Regions from separate parts of the Homo sapiens genome. Here region 1 is linked to region 2. The links are contacts of gene promoters, found by promoter capture Hi-C in human tissues and cell types (Jung and others, 2019). All regions are on one chromosome and are shown on one strand. Each heading gives the region's core, a stretch centred on a gene start or on the middle of the fragment in contact. The rest is flanking DNA. Distances are from core to core; before and after follow the strand shown.

What was found. The method cuts DNA at HindIII sites, captures the fragments that hold promoters and counts their contacts. A contact is called where the count stands out against the background at its distance.
Region 1: a contact is called between the fragment with the promoter of TMED9 here and a fragment that was not itself captured in region 2, in 2 of the 25 tissues and cell types used here (bladder and spleen).

Annotation. Positions count from the first base shown.
Region 1 is chr5:177,587,922-177,593,452 of GRCh38, reverse strand. It overlaps TMED9 (transmembrane p24 trafficking protein 9), which reads right to left and starts at 1,250. Exons shown (of 5, transcript NM_017510.6): 1 at 1,055-1,250; 2 at 778-878. The coding sequence starts at 1,238. RefSeq lists an enhancer at 1-45. The HindIII fragment of the contact is 6,732 bases long and covers 1-5,531 here.
Region 2 is chr5:177,635,938-177,641,381 of GRCh38, reverse strand. It overlaps the pseudogene SIMC1P1. Among named protein-coding and RNA genes, the nearest start is that of B4GALT7, 39 kb to the right of the region's middle. The HindIII fragment of the contact is 3,674 bases long and covers 1-3,303 here.

The sequences.
Region 1 (5,531 bases), core at 1-2,500, 48 kb after region 2:
GAGAGTCTGACATTAGGGTGGCAAGTGACTGACTGCTCTTGGGAAGGGCTTTCCTTTATAGCTTATGCCCTTTCAACTTTTTTGGTGTGAGTTGTTTTTTGGGGGGTTCTTTTTTGTTTTTGTTTTTGAGACAGAGTCTCACTCTGTCGTCCTGGCTGGAGTGCAGTGATGCTATCTCAGCTCACTGCAGCCTCAGCTTCCCAGGTTCAAGCAATTATCGTGCCTTAGCCTCCCAAGTATCTGGTATTAGAGGTGTGCGCCACCACACCCGGCTCATTTTTTTTTTTTTTTTTTTTTGTATTTTTACTAGAGACGGGGTTTGCCAGACGGAGGTTGCCCAGGCCGGTCCTGAACTCCCGGCCTCAAGTGATCCACCCGCCTCGGCATCCCAAAGTGCTGGGATTACAGGCAAGAGCCACCACACCCCGCCATGAGTTTTTTAACGAAAAGTGACAGAAGGTGAGAGCTGAAGGGTTTTGCCGTTCGTTTTAATATCCTTACTTGGGAAGATTAAAAGCTGCTCATTTTGTGGGGAAAGTATCATGTTCTGTGAAATCTTAAAGTCTAGATGACTTTAAGAGTTGACAAAACTCTTTGATTTTTATCACCACAATTAATCCGCCCATTTCACAGACCGGGCGGGGTCTGCAAGTCAGCAGGATATTCCCACAACATCAACTGTCTCTCCCACTTTAGCAGATGCAGGAACTAGAAGAGGAAGTACCGGAGCCCGCCTAGCTGAGAGGCTGGCGGAGAGGAGGGGGGCGGTTGGCTCACCTTGTCCTCTGGGTCCTTCACCTCCACAAACATGCCAAGCCCCGGGGTGGCCGGCTGGTACTCCTCCCGCTGCTTGTCATACAGCTGCGTCCGGTAGTTTCCTTGAGGGAAGCAGGGCGAGCCCAGGTCAGAGGAGCGCGAGGTGGCATGGGTTCCGCGACCGCCTGGGCACGGCGAGGCCGTCTCCTCCCGGCTCTAGAGAGCTGACTGTCTCGCATCCCCCGCCCCAAGACCACGGTCACGTTCCAAACTCGCCCCTTCCTCCCCGCCCCCGCACCTATGACCATGGTCTCGTCCGGGATCTCCTCAATAAAGCACTTCTTCTCCGTCTCTCCGATGTGAAAGTAGAGCGCGCTTCCGCGCGTCGCCAGCCACAGCACCAGCAGGAGGGTCCGCATCACTCTACCCAGCCCGGTTCCGGGCCGGGGCCGGACGAGCAGCACGCCCAGCTCCACAGCCATCTTGCTCCACCTGCCTGCGCAGCCGCAGCCGGCCGCGCCACGTCGCCCTGCCGCCGCCGCGGTGCCTGCCGGGACCGCGAGTTCCGCCGGGTGGACCACAAATCCCGAGATGTCCCGCGGCCCTGGCGCGGCAGTACCTGATTGGGGCGCGGCTTTTACCTGAGAGAGAGCGGGTGCCCTAGAATAAAAACTTATTTCCGTTGACTCTCTTCATGGCCTGGCAACTGACGATGGTTACCAGCTTTTCATAGATGAAACTGAGGTCGTTTGTTTGAGGTTGCGGAGCGAATTGCGAACAGAGACAGGATTCGAACCTAGGATCCCTGACTTTCCTTGGCACAGCATCTACCAGTCTTGATTTGCTTCTACCTTTAAAAATGAATTTAAAGAGAACGACCAAATAATGCACAAATGTATTATCAAAAAAGATTAAAAGAAATAAAAGGCAAGGTCTCCCATTACCACTTCTTTGTCCTCATACCCTGTCCACTCCTAAATCGGGTGTTACCCTCTCAAGCATTTCTCCGATCACACACACACACAAACACACACACAGCCTCTGCTGCCAGATCCCAACTGCAATGGCTCGTTACTAGCAATTCTACAGAAATAGAAAGGATCATAAGAGAGTACTATGAGCAAATATAAGCCAACAAATTGGATAACGTAGATGAAATGGACAAATTCATAGAAATGCAAAACTGACTCAGAATAGATAATATAATCTGAATAAACCTATAACTAGTGAGGAGATTGAATCAGTAATTTAAAAAAAATCATCCTTACTTAATATAGTTAAGATGTCAATACTATCCAAAGCAATCTACAGATTTAATGCAATTCCTGTCAAAATCCCAATGACATTTTTTGTAGAAACAGAGAAACTCATTCTACAATTCATATACTCTCAAGGGATTTCGATTAGCCAAAACAATCCTGAAAAATAAGAATAAAGCTGAAGAACTCACACTTCCTGATTTCAAAACTTACTTCCAAGCTTCAGTCATCAAGACAGTGTGGTACTGGCATATAGACAGACATATAGACCAATGGAATACAATAGAGAGCCCCAAGATATGCCCTCCCATATATGGTCAAATAATTTTTAACAAGGAGACCAAGCCCATTCAATGCGGGGAGGAGGGACAGTCTTTCTAACAAATGGTGCTGGGAAAACTGGATATCCACATGCAAAAAAGTGAAGGTGGTTCCTTCTCTAACACCATAGATAAAAATTCACCCAAAAAGACCCACAACTTTTAAAATCCCAAAGCATAAAACTCATAGAAAACATATGGCAAAGGGTTTACCACATCGGATTTGGCAACAGACTTCCTGGATATGACACTAAAGGCACAGGCAACAAAAGAAAAAATAGACAAATTGGACTTTATGAAAATTAAAACATTTTGTGCATCAAAAGACTCTGTAGCAGAGTAAAGAGGCAACCCACAGAATGGAAGAAAATATTTGCAAATCATATATCTGACAAAGGATTAATATCCAGAATATGCAGAGACTCCTAAAACTCAGCAACAAAATAAGAACAATCTCATTCAAAAACCACAACAAAGGGCTTGAATAGACATTTCTCCAGTGATCAACAAGTGGCCAGTGAGCACATGAAAAGATACTCAACATCACTAATCATTAGAGAAACACAAATCACAATGAGATAAAGAACAATGAGATACTACGTCATATACCCATTAAGATGGCCACTAGAAAAAAAAAAAGGAAAAGAAAGAAACTACAAGCATTGGCAAGGATGTGGGGAAATTGAACCCTTGTGCACTGTTGGTGGGAATGTAAAATGGTACAGACACTGTGGAAAACCGTATAATGATTCCTCAAAAAAGTGAAAATAGGCTGGGCATGGTGGCTTACGCCTATAATTCCAGCGCTTTGGGAGGCAGAAGCAGGAGGATTGCTTGAGCCCAGGAGTTCGAGACCAGTCGGGGCAACATGACGAAACCCCATCTCTACAAAAAATACAAAAATTAACTGGATCTGGTGGCATGCGCCTGTAGTCCCAGCTACTCAGGAGGCTGAGGCAAGAGGATTGCTTGAGCCTGGGAGGTCAAGGCTACAGTGAGCTGTGATCATGCCACTGCACTCCAGCCTGGGTGACAAAGCAAGACACTGTCTCAAAATAAATAAATAAAAATAGAATTACCATATGATTCAGCAAGTCCATATCTAGAGATATCCTCAAAATAATTAAAAGTAGGGTCTCAAAGAGATATTTGTACACATATGTTCACAGCAGCATTATTCACAAGCAAAAAAAAAAATGGAAGCAACCCAGTTCTTCATCAGTAGATGAATAGATAAGCAAAATATGGTACATCCACACAATGGAAATCCTTTCAGCCTTAGAAAGGATGGGAATTCTGACACATGCTACAACATAGATGAATCTTGAAGAAACATTACGCTAAGTGGACTAAGCCAGACATAAAATGATAAATACTGGGTAATTCCATGTATATGAGGTACTAGAGTCGTCAAAATCACAGAGACAGAAAGCAGAATGGTGGTTGCCAGGGACTGGAGGACAGGGAGAGTGAAGTTATTGTTTAATAGGTATAGAGTTTCAGTTTTCCAAGATAAAAAGAGTTCTGTAGATGGATGGTGGTGAGAGTTCTATGGCAATATAATGTACTTAATCCCACTGAAGTGTACAGTTAAAAACAGTCAACTTTGGCCGGGCACGGTGGCTCACGCTTGTAATCCCAGCACTTTGGGAGACCGAGGCGGGAGGATCACAAGGTCAGGAGATCGAGACCTGCCTCACCAACATGGAGAAACCCTGTTTCTACTAAAAATACAAAATTAGCCTGTGTGGTGGCACATGCCTGTAATCCCAGCTCCTCGGGAGGCTGAGGCAGGAGAATTACTTGAACCTGGGAAGCAGAGGTTTGGTGAGCTGAGAAGGCACCTTTGCATTCTAGCCTGGGCAACAAGAGTGAAACTCCATCTCAAAAAAAAAAACAAAAGTGTGGTAGAATGCTCCAGTGTAATCATCTGGGCCTTGAAATTTCCTTTTGGGGAGTGTTTTAATTATGAATTAAATTTCCTTAATAGCTATAGGGCTATTCAAAGTATCTATTTCATACTAGTAAGTTGTGATAGTGTGTGCTTTTTGAGTAATTGATCTATTTTGCCTAAATTGTTACATTTATGTATGTAGAGGTTCAGTCAGGATGGTGGGGAAAATTATACAATAAAACACAAAACTTGGAAGGCCAAAAGGTTTTTGCTTAGCTTCAGATAGTTTGGCTGAAAGCGGCCTAATCCTCTTTGAGCCATAGCAAGGGTAAGTAACATAGGAATGTAGAGGAGTCTATCTAAATAGCTTGTTTACTCATGTGGTTCTAAAAGTAACCTTTAATCATTCGCGGGCAGGATGGCGCTCTGGGGGAGGCAGGGGAAGGCGACCAGGTTGATTACCCTCTAATGGTGTTTACTTGAGACTTTTGCTGTGTTTAATGTGTGCTAAGTAAATGACGAGAAGGCCAGCGAGTAGGAGGCGGGGAGTCGGGGCCACGTTGCAAATGTACAGCACTCTCCTGGGAGTCTGTAGGGGGCCTGGACAATCGGCCTGACTGACAAGCAGAATATCTGTGTCAGTGTACATTATTCATCTGTCGTTGAGTTGAGGTCTGCAGCACACACCCCCACATATGTATGTAAAGTTGTCCGTGGAATTATTCTCTTATGATCCTTCTGATGTGGGCAGGGTCTGTACTGATGTCACCCGTTTCATTACTGATACTGGTGATTTATGTCTTCTTTTTTCTGTATCAGTCTTGTAAGAGGTTTGTCAATTTTATCAGTCTTTTCAAAGAATCAGCTTTTTGTGTCATTGATTTTCTCTGTTGCTTTTCTGTTTTTAATTTCATTGGTTTCTGCTTGTTATTTTTTCCTCTTCTGCTTGCTTTGGATTTAGTTTGTTCTTCTTATTCTAGTGACTTGAAGTAGAAGTTTGTGGGGTTTTTTTGTTGTTTTGTTTTGTTTTGATTTTTGAGACAAGGTCTCACTCTGTCACCCAGGATGGAGTACAGTAGCAACATCTCGGCTCATCGCAGCCTCCACCTCCCAGGTTCAAGCGATTCTCCTGCCTCACCCTCCCAAGTAGCTGGGATTACAGGCATGTGTCACCATGCTCTGCTAATTTTTGTATTTTTAGTAGAGATGGGGTTTCACCATGTTGCCCAGGCTGGTCTCGAACCCCTGACCTCAGGTGATCTGCCCTCTTCAGCCTCCCAAAGTGCTGAGATTATAGGCATG
Region 2 (5,444 bases), core at 217-2,716:
CATCTAGTGGATTTGGGGTCCACATGATCCAGTGAGACACCAACTGGGGCAGCCAAGGGAAAGCTTATGTCACCCCTTCCCCAACTTCAGGCAGCACAACTCACAGCACCAGGAGGAGAGGGAAGAGTAAAGAGGGGTCAGGCATGGTGGCCTGTAATCCTAGCACTTTGAGAGGCCAAAGTGGGCAGATCACCTGAGATCAGGAGTTCGAGACCAGCCTGGCCAACATGGCAAAACCCCGTCTCTACTAAAAATACAAAAATTAGCCAGGCATGGTGGCAGGCACCTGTAATCCCAGCTACTCAGGAGGCTGAGGCCTGAGAATCATTTGAACCCTGGAGGCGGAGGTTGCAGTGAGCCAAGATCTCACCACTGCGCTCCAGCCTGGGTGACAGAGCAAGGCTCTGTCTCAAAAAAAAAAGTGTATGAGTAGATAATTTAAGTAGACCTATATCCAATAAAGAAATAGAATCAATAATTATTAATAACCTTCCAGAACTGGACGACATTCTGTTAAGTGAAATAAGTTAGGCACACAAAGACAAACTTTGCATGTCCTCATTGTTTGTGAGAGCTAAAAATTAGACTCATGGTGATAGTGAGTAGAATGATGGTTACCAGAGGCTAGGAAGGGGAGTAGGGGGTTGGGAGAGAATGGATGGTTAATGGGTACAAAAATATTTTTAGATACAATGAATAAGATCTAGTATTTGATAGCACAACAAGGTGACTACAGTAAGCAATATTTTATTATACATTTCAGAATGACTGAGGGAGTCCAATTGGAATGTTCTTAACAAAGAAATGAATTCTTGAGGTGATGGATACCCATTTACCCTGATGTGATTATTACACATTATACAATGTCTCAAAATATTCCTGTCTCAAAATATGTACCCCATAGATATATATAATTATTATATATAATATCTAATATATAATTATTTGTATATATAATTTGTATATATAATATACAATTATATATAATATATAATATATAATATATATAATAATATATAATTATATAATTTTATATAATATATAATTTTATATAATATATAATTTTATATAATTTCATATAATATATAATTATATGTTATATAATAATATATATAATTTATATAATATATAATATATAATTATATATTGTATATAATTTTATATAATATATAATTATATTATATATTATATATAATTATATATAATTTTATATATATAATTATATTTTTTATATTTATACACACACACACACACACACACACACACACACACACTATGCACTTATAAAAATTAAAAAGAAATAAAACAAGGGCCAGGCACAATGGCTCACGCTGGTCATCCCACCACTTTGGGAGACCAAGGCAAGAGGATTACTTGAGCCCAGGAGTTCAAGACCAGTCTGTAGTGACATCCCGTCTCTACGAAAAAAAAAAAGCTGGACATGGTGGTACACACCTGCAGTCCCTGCTACATAGGAGGCTGAGGTCATAGGATCACTCCACTGCACTCCAGCCTGTGTGACATAGTGAGACCCCATCTCAAAAAACAAAAAGCAAGAATGTCTGTTCTTGGCACTTCTATTCAGAATTATACTGAATGCCTTAGCAATTGCAATAAGGCAAAAAAAAAGGCATACAGATTGGAAAGGAAGTAAGACTTATTTGCAGACAACACACATATAGAAACGTATATAGAAATCCTAGGTTCCAAGATAGCCGAATAGGAGCAGCTCCAGTCTACAGCTTCCAGCGTGGGCAGCGCAGAAGACGGGTGGTTTCTGCATTTCCAACTGAGGTACCGGGTTCATCTCACTGGGGCTTGTCGGACAGTGGGTGCAGGACAGTGGGTGCAGCCCACCAAGCAAGAGCCGAAGCAGGGCGAGGCATCGCCTCACCCGGGAAGCACAAAGGGTCAGGGAATTCCCTTTCCTAGCCAAGGGAATCTGTGACAGACGGCACCTGGAAAATGGGGTCACTCCCACCCTAATACTGTGCTTTTCCAACGGTCTTAGCAAACAGCACACCAGGAGATTATATCCTGCGCATGGCTCAGAGGGTCCCATGCCCACGGGGCCTCACTCATTGCTAGCACAGCAGTGTGAGATCAAACTACAAGGTGCCAGCGAAGCTTGGGGAAGGGTGCCCGCCATTGCTGAGGCTTGAGTAGGTAAAGCAGCCAGGAAGCTCAAACTAGGTGGAGCCCACCGCAGCTCAAGGAGGCCTGCCTGCCTCTGTAGACTCCACCTGTAGGGGCAGGGCATAGCCGAACAAAAGGCAGCAGAAACTTCTGCAGACATAAATGTCCGTATCTGACAGCTTTGAAGAGAGTAGTGGTTCTCCCAGCATGGAGTTTGAGATCTGAGAACGGACAGACTGCCTCCTCAAGTGGGTCCCTGACCCCTGAGTAGCCTAACTGGGAGGCACCTCCTAGTAGGGGCCAACCGACACCTCACATAGCCGGGTGCCCCTCTGAGATGAAGCTTCCAGAGGAACAATCAGGCAGCTACATTTGCTGTTCTGCAATATTTGCTGTTCTGCAGCCTCCACTGGTGATACCCAGGCAAACAGTGTCTGGAGTGGACCTCCAGCAAACTCCAACAGAACTGCAGCTAAGGGTCCTGACTGTTAGAAGGAAAACTAACAAACAGAAAGGACATTCACACCAAAACCCCATCTGTACGTCATCATCATCAAAGACCACAGGTAGATAAAACCACAAAGATGGGGAGAAACCAGAACAGAAAAGCTGAAAATTCTAAAAATCAGAGTGCCTCTTCTCCTCCAAAGGAATGCAGCTCCTTGCCAGCAACAGAACAAAGCTGGACGGAGAATGACTTTGACGAGTTGAGAGAAGAAGGCTTCAGATGATCAAACTTCTCCTAGCTAAAGGGGGATGTTTGAACCCATCGCAAAGAAGCTAAAAACCTTGAAAAAAGATTAGACGAATGGCTATCTAGAATAAACCAGTGAAGAGAAGTCCTTAAATGAACTGATGGAGCTGAAAACCATGACACGAGAACTACGTGATGCATGCACAAGCTTCAGTAGCTGATTTGATCAACTGGAAGAAAGGGTATCAGTGACTGAAGATCAAATGAATGAAGCGAGAAGAGAAGTTTAGAGAAAAAAGAGTAAAAAGAAACGAACAAAGCCTCCAAGAAATACGGGACTATGTGAAAAGACCAAACCTGCATCTGACTGGTGTACCTGAAAGTGACAGGGAGAATGGAACCAAGTTGGAAAACACTCTTCAGGATATCATCCAGGGGAACTTCCCCAACCTAGCAAGGCCGGCCAACATTCAAATTCAGGAAGTACAGAGAATGCCACAAAGATACTCCTCGAGAAGAGCAACTCTGAGACACATAATTGTCAGATTCACCAAAGTTGAAGGAAAAAATGTTAAGGGCAGCCAGAGAGAAAGGGCGAGTTACCCACAAAGGGAAGCCCATCAGACTAACAGCTGATCTCTCGGCATAAACTCTATATGCCAGAAGAGAGTGGGGGCCAATATTCAACATTCTTAAAAGAATTTTCAACCCAGAATTTCATATCCACCCAAAATAAGCTTCATAAGTGAAGGAGAAATAAAATCCTTTACAGACAAGCAAATGCTGAGAGATTTTGTCACCACCAGGCCTGCCTTACCAGAGCTCCTGAAGGAAGTGCTAAACATGGAAAGGAACAACCAGTACCAGCCACTGCAAAAACATGCCAAATTGTAAAGACCATCGATGCTAGGAAGAAACTGCATCAACTAACGAGCAAAATAACCAGCTAACATCATAATGACAGGATCAAATTCACACATAACAATATTAACATTAAATGTAGATGTGCTAAATGCTCCAATTAAAAGGCACAGACTGGCAAATTGGATAAAGACTCAAGACCCATCAGTGTGCTGTATTCAGGAGACCCATCTCACGTGCAGAGACACACATAGGCTCAAAATAAAGGGATGGAGGAAGATCTACCAAGCAAATGGAAAACAAAAAAAGGCAGGGGTTGCAATCTTAGTCTCTGATAAAACAGACTTTAAACCAACAAAGATCAAAATAGACAAAGAAGGCCATTGCATAATGGTAAAGGGATCAATTCAACAAGAAAAGCTAACTATCCTAAATATATATGCACCCAATACAGGAGCACCCAGATTCATAAAGCAAGTCCTTAGAGACCTACAAAGAGACTTAGACTCCCACACAATAATAATGGGAGACTTTAACACCCCACTGTCAACATTAGACAGATCAATGAGACAGTTAACAAGGATATCCAGGAATTGAACTCAGCTCTGTACCAAGGGGACCTAATAGACATCTACAGAACTCTCCACCCCAAATCAACAGAATATACATTCTTCTCAGCACCACACCGCACTTATTCCAAAATTGACCACATAGTTGGAAGTAAAGCACTCCTCAGCAAACGTAAAAGAACAGAAATTATAACAAACTGTCTCTCAGACCACAGTGCAATCAAACTAGAACTCAGGATTAAGAAACTCACTCAAAACCGCTCAACTACATGGAAACTGAACAACCTGCTCCTGAATGACTACTGGCTACATAACGAAATGAAGGCAGAAATAAAGGTGTTCTTTGAAACCAATGAGAACAAAGACACAACATACCAGAATCTCTGGGACACATTTAAAGCATTGTGTAGAGGGAAATTTATAGCACTAAGTGCCCATAAGGGAAAGCAGGAAAGATCTAAATTGACACCTTAACATCACAATTAAAAGAACTAGAGAAGCAAGAGCAAACACATTCAAAAGCTAGCTGGCAGAAGGCAGGAAATAACTAAGATGAGAGCAGAACTGAAGGAAATAGAGACACAAAAAACCCTTCAAAAAATCAATGAATGCAGGAGCTGGTTTTTTGAAGAGATCAACAAAATTGATAGACCACTAGCAAGACTAATAAGAAAAGAGAGAAGATTCAAATAGACACAATAAAAAATGATAAAAGGGTTATCACCACCAATCCCACAGAAATACAAATGACCGTCAGAGAATACAATAAACACTTCTATGCAAATAAACTAGAAAATCTAGAAGAAATGGATAAATTCCTGGACACATACACCCTCCCAAGACTAAAGCAGGAAGAAGTTGAATCCCTGAATAGACCAATAACAGGCTCTGAAATTGAGGCAATAATTAATAGCCTACCAACGAAAAAAAGTCCAGGACCAGACAGATTCACAGCCGAATTCTACCAGAGGTACAAGGGGGAGCTGGTACCGTTCCTTCTGAAACTATTCCCATCAATAGAAAAAGAGGGAATCCTCCCTAACTCATTTTATGAGGCCAGCATCATCCTGATACCAAAGCCTGGCAGAGACACAACAAAAAAAGAGAATTTTAGACCAATATCCCTGATGAACATTGATGCAAAAATCTTCAATAAAATGCTGGCAAACCAAATCCAGCAGCAC